Linked DNA regions of Homo sapiens: region 2 is linked to region 1. The links are contacts of gene promoters, found by promoter capture Hi-C in human tissues and cell types (Jung and others, 2019). All regions are on one chromosome and are shown on one strand. The core of a region is centred on a gene start or on the middle of the fragment in contact, and the rest is flanking DNA. Distances in the headings are between cores, read along the strand shown. Region 1 holds the start of RAD51AP1 (RAD51 associated protein 1). Region 2 overlaps NDUFA9 (NADH:ubiquinone oxidoreductase subunit A9).

Region 1 (5,525 bases), core at 2,078-4,577:
GGGATGGAATAGGAGACAAACCTCTATGTTGCAACTATGGACTTTAGAGTAGTTTAGATCTAAAGAGACTTTTCACCTGGCCTGTTCATTTATCACCTACTAACATAATTTTTATCAGTATAATTATCAGCATAATTATCCCAAATGATTAGAAAACTATCTTTCCAGACCTACCTCATATGCATTTGGGCAATTTAGTCAGTGTTTGAGCTATATATGTCATATAAATTCCGAGGAAATGAGTTTCCAAATCTTTAGAACAAAAATAAGAAGCTTTACTTACCATCACTGTCAGAGTGGTCAAACTGTGAGTAATTGACTGGTTTCTTATGTCTATGACCAAAACAGAATTTTTTCATTAACACAAATGTCAATTTCTCACCACTATTACTTAAGGCTATTAATGAATATTATTTATTTATTTAATATTATTCATTTATTAATAAATAATGAATAAACGAAATAAATAAAAATGTGTTAAATGAAATGTGTTTCAATAAATGAAAATGTGTTTGGGTTCAAGTAAGAATATTTAACTCTAAAACATGATTTGCATTTTACCGCGGGGATTTATCATTAGCTAAAATAGTTACAACTATACCTGATATACCTGGGTATTGTTGGCTTTTCAATTATATGATAAAGGAAAAAAATTCAGGTAACTTACAAAGAATAATCTACATAATTAACATTTATAATTGCTATACTGTTTAATTGCTGTTGGGCATTTGTAAGTTCCCGTTGTACGTGTTCTTCTGTTTTGTGTGTGCATTCTATCTTCCTTACTAGATTATAAATTTCTTGACACTAAAAGCTACTTTCTTTTCAATCTCTCCACCATACCAAATAACATTTTTATGCAACGGACACTTAAAAATGGTGAGTGACCTTGTTCCTACCACCTGAGATGAGTATCCCTTATCTGAAATGCTTGGAACCAGAAATGTTTTGAATTTTGGATTTTTTCAGATTTTGGAATATCTGCATTATATACTTACCAGCTGAGCATCCCAAATCTGAAAATCTAAAATCTGAAGTGCTCCAATGAACATTTCCTTTGAGTGCCATGTAGGTACTGCAAAAGTTTCAAATTTTGGAGCATTTCAAATTTGGGATGCTCAACTTGTACTACTTCAGAGGGCATTAGAAGAAAATGATATTCAAAGTGAAAAAAATAATTTTTTCCTCCCTCCTCTAGGCACTAAATAAAATGTTTTTCTAGTTTTTATTTCTATATTTTTGTCAAATGGCTAAATGTGAATAACCTAATTTGTCAGCTGGTTGTTCTTTCAAGTAAAAAGAATGTTCTATGAAAAAGAGGTAGTAAGCTCAGCTCACAACTCAGACAATCTCACAAGTGCTTTTCCTTGAGATAACTATCACGCATCAGTATACAGAAGTGCTTTATGTGTACTTCCTGTTTCCTCACGCAAACTATTAAAAAGTGCACTCATATTACTCTCTTACTCTTCAGAGTTAAAGAAGTTAGAGCTGAATAAAATGTGAAAACCCCTTTATAAATTCTGAACTTGAATAATAGTAAAATAAAATCAATAGCCTATTTTTAATTAGTATACTTAAGGGTTAAGCTATGATGAATATAATAATTTCCACTACTTCATCAAGCATATTCTTAACTGAAATGATTTTTTTTTTTTTTTTTACTTTTAAGAGTATGGCAGTAAACATTGCAAAGACTAGTAGTACAATTTAGTGCCACTGCCTTAATTGTTCTGAGGTGCCAGCAGTTTTATCGGGGTCACTGCAGTGCAAATGACAAAGCAGCGAAAAAGGCAAATCATATCTTAGTATTGTTATGAAAGGAGTTTTGACCTCATAGACCTCTAGAGAAGTTTCCAGGGACCCACAGAGGTCTGTAGACCATACTTTAACAACTGCTGTTCCTTACAAAGGGATTATGACTCCACTGCCTGGATGCTTAAAACCCATTTCAAATTCAGCATGTTCGAAACAGAAATCTTGATCCCTCACACCTCCTAACCTTCCTTTTCCTAGTCTTCCCTATCTTAATACAAAGATCATCCATCCTGTAGCTCAGACCAAAACTATTGTGGAGTCATCTCTGATTCTTTCTTTCCCTTACCTGTACATCTACTTCATCAGCAAGTTCTGTCCACAGTGCCTCCGAAATACATCCCAAATTCATCTGTTCCATTCCATGCCCACTAATAATACCCTATCCCAAACCGCTCTCCAATGATATAATACCTGATTTTCCTGCTCCCGTTCTGGTCACCCTATCCATCATTTATTCTCCACCAACAGCCAGTGACCTTTATAAAAGCAAACTTAGATTCCTCTCCCCTACTTAAAACCCTCCACTGACTTCCCATTGACTTAAAATAAAACCTAAACTCCTTTCTAAGACTTACAAGACCCTATCTGTTCTGGCACCTGCCTATTTCTCTGGCCTAATCCCCCTACGATTCTCCCCACTGCTTGTTAATCCTATAGCATTAGACTGTCCCTAAAATATGGTCAAGTATGGGGCCTTGGCTCCTATTCCCTCTACCCTGATTCATGACTCAGTGCATGCATTATCGCCTCAGAGTCACATATTAACTACTATATTTAAAGTAGTGCTTTCCTCTTTCGCACTCTCATATTTCGAGGCTTATTTTCGGCCCCCTAACCTCACCTCCCACTGGAATGTAACCTCCAGCACCTCGTACACTAAAGAAGTGAATATATTCAATAACTTTATTAAATGAATGGCTAACTATAGGCTTCCATGGCACTCAACTGTGTAAATAGAAGAATCGTTTCTAATACCACGATGGAAAGCACAGAGGATCTTGAGTGAGATGACTTAGGTTTGAGTATTGCCCTGCCACTTACTGGGCTGTATGACTCAGATAACTTACCCTCTATACGTAGAAATGTTAAATCAATACAACAGGAATGCTTACTCTTTCTATATCAAATAACTACAGTGATAAACAAATAAAATAACACATAATTGGGCGCTCGGTGAAATGTAAAGCGCTGTTCAAACGCTAACAAGGTCTTGGTAAAAGAAACGGCGACGGTTGTGAAGGGAGGCAAAGAGAAGGAAAAAGCTACGATGCTAGGATACTTCTGAGCAACGGGTGGCTCTCACTGGAGACTGGGTTCTTGATAACCGTCCATCCTAACCCCACCATCGCTGCCCTCCGGTCTTACTCGATCCTTTCCCCTTAGTCTCATGTCTTTTCCCTTAGTTTTCCTCCCACCCCCGACGAATGTCAGGAACTACCCACCTCACAGGCCGCACCATGGTCCCTTTCAAGGCTTGGTATTTACAGTTCTCAAATTCTTGTTGGCTTCAGCGGCGGTTTCAATTCCCGCCCAAAACCAGACTTCGGAGCCCTCCGCCCCCTGTTACCAGTCGTCCAATCATCACCAGCCATGCTTGCGGCGGCGCACGCGCTGTGGGGAAAGCGAATTTGCTCCCGCCCTCCCCAAGGCACCGCTTTTCCGTATCCGGTCCACCAGAGCCGAGTTTGTGCTTTGTCCCTGCACTTTCGTCACAACGGCGGATTTGCCCTGTCTCTGAAATACAGAATAACAATAGAAATACACCTTATTGCACCTTTCAAATTGTTAAATTGAAACAGGTTGGGACATAGGGGCACTTGGACTGAGAAATTTTCTACAAGATGCCAGGAAATAGAAAAGGATGTGGCGAATCTACGTTCGCGGATCCGCGGTGTGGAAAAAGTATGTCGGCAAGTCAGCTGGTTTCCCAGTGCAGGACGCGCTGACAGCTCGAGTGAGCGGACTGCCCAGGACTTCGGAACTAGACGAGGTGAGCCCAGAACCGAGTGAGGATGCCCTTTCAGACTGACAACCGTTACAGAGGGATTAGTCCCCTCACCCGGCTGAAGTTTCTCAGCTCGACCGTCTGTCTTCCTTTTCCCTGATTAATGTGAGCCTCAGAGCCTCCGCTCTGTTGGCTGTGTGTGTTCGGTCCAGACCTTCCATCCCATTTTCTTATGGGAAACCTTCCTGGATTTCACGGTTGCTAAAACTGAACCCAGGCTTCAGGATAGACCATTAGTCTAAAAAAAGAGCGAGAGGAGAAAGAACTAAAGTTATCAGTTTCTTGAAACACAAGTCTAAATGTTGAACCAGAGCTTTTGTGTCTGCCTTCTCTTTTTTTTTTCAACATTCCTGATTCATTCATATTTTTGCATTTATCAGTGGTTGATTCTTTTTTATTGCTGTGTAGTATTTATCTCATAAAATAAACAAGTTTACTATTCTCCTACTAATACGCATTTTGGTTGTTTCCAGTTTGGGGTATTATAAATAAAACTTATATGAGCATTCTTCTGGGTGTACTTTAGCGAACATATGCGTGTGTGTGTATTTGGATATATACTTAGGAATGAAATTTCTACATCATAGAATATACCTTTATGTAGTTTTGGTAGTTTTCTAACATTATAAAAATTTGTATTGCTTTACGTTTAATTTTAATTCTTTCTGAGTAAAACAAATACCCTATCTCTTTGCATTATGGTGAAATAGACGAAGATTTTTGTGTATAGCCTACATACAGATTTGAAAATATAGTCTGGATAATTCAACTTAGCCCCGCCCCACGACATGTACAAAAGTCCTTTGAGTTTTTTTTATATTTCAGGTGATATCTTTTTAAATAACCGTATGAATAATTTTTTGTTCTTTATTTTTCCAGTGAGCACCATAAAATAAAAACGCCATACAATCCAACAATTATTTATTAGTTCTTGCCATTCGCAACATCCTGCCTAATACATGGAATACAAGACAGTATTCCTTCCACTTCAAGAAGACTGTTTTCTAGCCAAGAGTAAGAAATAGAGCGTGATAAGTGCCATGATTCAAATAAGTCTAGGCTAATATGAGAGCCTGTCGGGACCCAATCCAGTTTTAGGGAGTTGGATAAGTCTTCCTAGAGGCTTAACTGAGACCTGAAGAATTAGCAATTGTTATCCAATGAAATTAAGATCAGTAAGAGTGCTCTAGGCAAAGGAAAAGGCATTCAAAAAGATTCGGCATGGAAGGAGAAGTTTGGTGTTGACAGAAGTTCAGAATGGCTGGAAAATAAAATTTGTGAATTTGTGTATTAGGAAGGAGAGGTGCAGTTTCTGAGAGAAGAGTGGAAATATAAGCAGGGGTGTTGTAAACTGGGATAAAGAGTTTGCATTTTATCCTGAGAGCAATGGAATGTCATAGAAAGTTTTTAAGCGGATGAACAACATGATCAGATAAGTATATTCCTTTTTTAAAAAGGAAGATTACTATAACTTCAGTGTAGAAAATAATGTAAGAACTGATTTGATGGGAGAAAGCCTAGCCATAGGAAGTCCAGTTACAAGGCTGATGAATAAATAAATCTTTAATTGATGTTGATTCTTACTGCCTTTAACTAGATTTTCTTCTTCCTTAGTAGTGTCTAGTTTGCCTTTGGGGTGTGGGCCGGAAGTGGAGGTCCTGTACTCTCTCTTTTCTGTGTATCTTCTTCCCACATGGAAATC
Region 2 (6,073 bases), core at 191-2,690, 140 kb before region 1:
AAGATGTACCATCTTCCAAATCCAGGGTGGTACCTCCCTTGACAAGACATTCATGTTTCATAGCCTTCTCTTTACCCGTTTCCTTTGCTCCCTTTTACAGGGAAACTTCTCCAAATAGTTACCTAACTGTTGCCTCCACTTCCTATCCTGCCATTCAAATCTCACTGCAATCCAATCTGCCCTTTGCCTAATGTTCAAATGAGGTCATTAAGGTGACCATGAATCTCTATGCTGTCACTCACTCAACCTCCTGGCAGCATCCAATATAGTTGCCAACTTCCTCCTTCTGGTTTTCTTTCCAATTAACTGGACTTTCCTTTTCGGTCATTTATTTTAATTATTTTGCTTAATTATTACTTATGCATCTCATCACTAATCTATAAGCTCCACAAAGGCAGAAATCTTACCCATGCTATTCACTATTGTGGTATAATTTACATACATTAAAATTCATCCATTTTAAGCATATAATTCAATGATTTTTCATACATTTACCAAGTTGTACAATCATTACCATAATCCAGTTTTAGAATATTTTTCCTTACTCTAGTAAGATCCTCCACAGCCATTTAATCCTGGATTTTACTCCCAGGCTCAGGCAATCACTAATCTACTTACATTTGCCTTTTATAGATACTTCATATAAACGGAATCACACAACATGTGATCTTCTGTATCTAGCTTCTTTCATTTACCATGTTTTTGAGGTTCACACATGTAACATGTCAATATTTCATTCCTTTTATTGTTGAACTTCTATTATATGAGAATGCTACTATATTTTATTTCTCCTTTCATCAGTTAATGAATATGTGGGATGTTTCCAATTTTTAGCATTTATGATAACGCTGCTATGAAAATTCAAGTGCAAATCTTTGTGTAGACACATTTTCATTTCTTTTGGGTAAATATCTAGGAGTAAAATTGATAGGCCATATGGTAAATTTATGCTAACTTTTTAAGAAGATGCCAAACTGTTTTCTAAAGTGGCTATACAATTTTACACCCCTACCAGCAATGTATGAAGGTTCTCATTACTCCATGTCTTCCTCAACATTTGTTATTTTCTCTCTGTGAACTGGTATCTCATAATGGTTTTGATTTGCATTTTCTGTAATGACTAATGATATGGAGCATCTTTTCATATGTTTTTTAGTGATTAAGTACATCTGCTGGGCTGATATGCCTATTCATGTCTTTTGCTCATATTAAAAAATGGATCATCTTCTCATTGAGTTCTAAGATTTCTTTGTATATTCTAGATAGTAGTCCTCTATCAGATATGTAATTAACAAATATTTTCCCCCAATCTGTGACTTGTTTTTTCATTTTCTTAATGGTGTCTTTTGAAACACAAGAGCTTTAATTTTGGTGAAGTCTAATGTATCCATTTATTTTTTATTTTATGAAATAGGCTTTTGATGCCATAGGTAAAAATCTTCTAGAATCCAAGGTCTAGAAGATTTTCTATTTTCCTTCCAAAATTATTATAGTTTTATAACTCTTTTATTTATTTTTTTACATTTTTACCAATTGAAATTTTTTTTTTAATTATACTTTAACTTCTGGGGTACATGTGCAGAACGTACAGGTTTGTTACATAGGTATACATGTGCCATGGTGGTTTGCTGCACCCATCAACCTGCCATCTACATTAGGTATTTCTCCTAATGCTATCCCTCCTCTAGCCTCCCACCTCCAGCAGGCCCCAGTGTGTGATGTTCACCTCCCTGTTTCCATGTGTTCAACTCCCACTTATAAGTGAGAACATATGGTGTTTGGTTTTCTGTTCTTGTGTTAGTTTGCTGAGAATGATGGTTTCCAGCTTCATCCATGTCCCTGCAAAGGACATGAACTCATCCTTTTCTGTATACTGGCTGCATAGTATTCCATGGTGTATATGTGGCACATTTTCTTAATCCAGTCTATCATTGATGGGCATCTGGGTTGGTTCCAAGTCTTTGCTATTGTGAACAGTGCCGTAATAAACATACGTGTGCATGTGGCTTTATACTAGAATAATTTATAATCCTTTGGGTATATATACTCAGTAATGGGATTACTGGGTCAAATGGTATTTCTACTTCGAGATCCTTGAGGAATTGCCACACTGTCTTCCACAATGGTTTACACTTCCACCAACAGTGGAAAAGCGTCACTATTTCTCCACATCCTCTCCAGCATCTGTTGTTTCCTGACATTTTAATGATTGCCATCCTAACTGGCATGAGATGGTATCTCACTGTGGTTTTGATTTGCACTTCTCTAATGACCAGTGACGATGAGCTTTTTTCATATGTTTGTTGAGCTGCATAAATGTCTTCTTTTGAGAAGTGTCTGCTCATATCTTTCGCTCACTTTTTGATGAAGTTTTTTTCTTGTAAATCTGTTTAAGTTCTTTGTAGATTCTGGATATTAGCCCTTTTTCAGAAGGATAGATTGCAAAAATTTTCTCCCATTCTGTAGGTTGCCTGTTCACTCTGATGATAGTTTCTTTTGCTGTGCAGAAGCTCTTTAGATTAATTAGATCCCATTTGTCTATTTTGGCTTTTGTTGCCATTGCTTTTGGTGTTTTAATTACGAAGTCTTTGCCCATGCCTATGTCCTGAATGGTATTGCCTAGCTTTTCTTCTAAGGTTTTTATGGTTTTAGGTCTTACGTTTAAGTCTTTAATCCATCTTGAGTTAATTTTTGTATCAGGTGTAAGGAAAGGATCCAGTTTCAGCTTTCTGCATATGGCTAGCCAGTTTTCCCAACACCATTTATTAAACGGAGAATCATTTCCTCATTGCTTGTTTTTGTCAGATTTGTCAAAGATCAGATGGTTGTAAATGTGTGGCATTATTTCTGAGCCCTCTGTTCTGTCCCATTGGTCTATATACCTGTTTTGGTACCAGTACCGTGCTGTTTTGGTTACTGTAGCCTTGTAGTATAGTTTGAAGTCAGGTAGCATGATGCCTCCAGCTTTGTTCTTTTTGCTTAGGATTGTCTTGGCTATGTGGGCTCTTTTTTGGTTCCATATGAAATTTAAAGTAGTATTTTTCCAATTCTGTGAAGAAAGTCAATGGAAGTTTGATGGGGATAGCACTGAATCTACAAATTACTTTGGGCAATATGGCCATTTTCATTGTATTGATTCTTTCTATCCATGATCATGGAATGTTTTTCCATTTGTTTGTTTGTGTCCTCTCTTATTTACTTGAGCAGTGGTTGGTAGTTCTCCTTGAATAGGTCCTTCACATCCCTTGTTAAGTTGGATTCCTAGATATTTTATTCTCTTTGTAGCAATTGTGAATGAAAGTTCACTCATGATTTGGTTCACTCATGGTTTGTCTGTTATTGGTGTATGGGAATGCTTGTGATTTTTGCACATTGATTTTGTATCCTGATACTTTGCTGAAGTTGCTTACCAGCTAAGGAGATTTGGGGCTGAGACAATGGAGTTTTCTAAATATACAATCATGTCATCTGCAAACAGAGACAATTTGACTTCCTCTTTTCCTAATTGAATACCCTTTATTTCTTTCTCTTGCCTAATTGTCCCAGCCAGAACTTCCAACACTACGTTGAACACGAGTGGTGACAGAGGGCATCCTTGTCTTGTGCCGATTTTCAAAGGGAATGCTTCCAGTTTTCGCCCAATCAGTATGATATTGGCTGTGGGTTTGTCATAAATAGCTCTTATTATTTTGAGATATATTCCATCAACACCTAGTTTATTGAGGGTTCTTAGCATGAAGGGCTGTTGAATTTTGTCGAAGGCCTTCTGCATCTATTGAAATATTCATGTAGTTTTTGTCATTGGTTCTGTTTATGTGATGGATTACATTTATTGATTTGCATATGTTGAACCAGCCTTTTATCCCCGGATGAAGCCAACTTTATCGTGCTGGATAAGTTTTTTGATGTGCTGCTGGATTTTATTGAGGATTTTCGATTCAATGTTCATCAGGGACATTGGCCTGAAATTTTCTTTTTTTGCTGTCTCTGCCAGGTTTTGGTATTAGGATGATGCTGGCCTCATAAAATGAATTAGGGAGGATTCCCTCTTTTTCTATTGATTGGAATAGTTTCAGAAGGAATGGTACCAGCTCCTCTTTGTACCTCTGGAATAATTCAGCTGTGAATCCATCTGGTCCTGGACTTTTTTTGGTTGATAAGCTATTAATTGCTGCCTCAATTTCAGAACTTGTTATAGGTCTATTAAGGGATTCAATTTCTTCCTGGTTTAGTCTTGGGAGGGGGTATGTGTCCAGGAACCTATCCATTTCTTCTAGATTTTCTAGTTTACTGGTATAGAGGTGTTTATAGTATTCTCTGATGGTACTTAGTATTTCTGTGGGATCAGTGGTGATATCCCCTTTATCATTTTTTATTGCATCTATTTGATTCTTCTCTCTTTTCTTCTTTATTAGTCTGGCTAGCAGTCTATCTATGTTGTTGAAAAAAACCAGCTCCTGGATTCATTGATTTTTTGAAGGGTTTTTCCTGTCTCTATCTCCTTCGGTTCTGCTCTGATCTTAGCTATTTCTTGCCTTCTGCTAGCTTTTAAATTTGTTTGTTCCTGCTTCTCTAGTTCTTTTAAATGTGATGTTAGAGTGTCAATTTTAGATCATTCCTGCTTTCTCTTGTGGGCATTTAGTGCTATAAATTTCCCTCTACACACTGTTTTAAATGTGCTCCAGAGATTCTGGAATGTTGTGTCTTTGTTCTCATCGGTTTCAAAGAACATCTTTATTTCTGCCTTCATTTCATTATTTAGCCCGTAGTCATTCAGGAGCAGGTTGTTCAGTTTCCATGTAGTTGTGCAGTTTTGAGTGAGTTTCTTAATCCTGAGTTCTAATTTGATTGTCCTGTGGTCTGAGAGACTGTTATGATTTCTGTTCTTTCGCATTTGCTGAGAACTGTTTTACTTTCAATTATGTGGTCAATTTTAGAAGAAGTGCAATGTGGTGCTGAGAAGAAATTATATTCTGTTGATTTGGGGTGGAGAGTTCTGTAGACGTCTATTAGGTCCACTTGGTCCAGAGCTGAGTTCAAGTCCTGGATATCCTTGTTAATTTTCTGTCTCGTTGATCTTTCTAATATTGACAGTGGGGTGTTAAAGTCTCCCACTATTATTGTGTGGGAGTCTAAGTCTCTTTGTAGGTCTCCAAGAACTTGCTTTTTGAATCTGGGTGCTCCTGTATTGGGAGCATATATATTCAGGATAGTTAGCTCTTCTTGTTGCATTGATCCCTTTACCATTATGTAATGCCCTTGTCTCTTTTGATCTTTGTTGGTTTAAAGTCTGTTTTATCAGAGTAGGATTGCAACTCCTGCCTTTTTTTGCTTTCCATTTGCTTGGTAAATATTCCTCCATCCCTTTATTTTGAGCCTATGTGTGTCTTTGCATGTGAAATGGGTCTCCTGAATACAGCAAACTGATGAGTCTTGACCCTTTCTCCAATTTGCCAGTCTGTGTCTTTTAATTGGAGCATTTAGCCAATGCAAGGAAGCCATTTAAGGTTAATATTGTTATGTGTGAATTTGATCCTGCCATTATGATGCTAGCTGGTTATTTTGCCCGTTAGTTGATGCAGTTTCTTCATAGCGTCAATGGTCTTAAGAATTTGGTATGTTTTTGCAGTGGCTGGTATCAGTTGATCCTTTCCATGTTTAGTGCTTCCTTCAGGAGCTCTTGTAAGGCAGGCCTGGTGGTGATGCAATCTCTCAGCATTTGCTTGTCTGTAAAGGATTTTATTTCTCCTTCACTTATGAAGCTTAGTTTGGCCAGATGTGAAATTCTAGGTTGAAAATTCTTTTCTTTAAGAATGTTGAATGTTGGCCCCCATTCTCTTCTGGCTTGTAGGGTTTCTGCTGAGAGATCCACTGTTAGTCTGATGGGCTTCCCTTTGTGGGTAACCTGACCTTTTTCTCTGGCTGCCCTTAATATTTTTTCCTTCATTTCAGCCTTGGTGAATGTGACAATTATGTGTCTTGTGGTTGCTCTTCTCGAGGAGTATCTTTGTGGTGTTCTCTGTATTTCCTGAATTTGAATGTTGGCCTGCCTTGCTAGTTGGGGAAGTTCTCC

Evidence for each region. Contacts are between HindIII fragments. The study calls those that stand out against the background at their distance.
Region 2: a contact is called between a fragment that was not itself captured here and the fragment with the promoter of RAD51AP1 in region 1, in 1 of the 25 tissues and cell types used here (H1 embryonic stem cells).

What each region holds. Positions count from the first base shown.
Region 1 is chr12:4,536,692-4,542,216 of GRCh38, reverse strand. RAD51AP1 (RAD51 associated protein 1) reads right to left here and starts at 3,327. Exons shown (of 9, transcript NM_006479.5): 1 at 3,261-3,327; 2 at 284-333. The coding sequence starts at 3,277. FERRY3 (FERRY endosomal RAB5 effector complex subunit 3) reads left to right here and starts at 3,748. Exons shown (of 14, transcript NM_020374.4): 1 at 3,748-3,808. RefSeq lists enhancers at 2,895-3,503, 3,504-4,113 and a silencer at 3,719-3,768. The HindIII fragment of the contact is 8,045 bases long and covers 1-5,525 here.
Region 2 is chr12:4,673,760-4,679,832 of GRCh38, reverse strand. The region is part of intron 8 of NDUFA9 (NADH:ubiquinone oxidoreductase subunit A9); the gene reads right to left. Among named protein-coding and RNA genes, the nearest start is that of NDUFA9, 28 kb to the right of the region's middle. The HindIII fragment of the contact is 9,697 bases long and covers 1-6,073 here.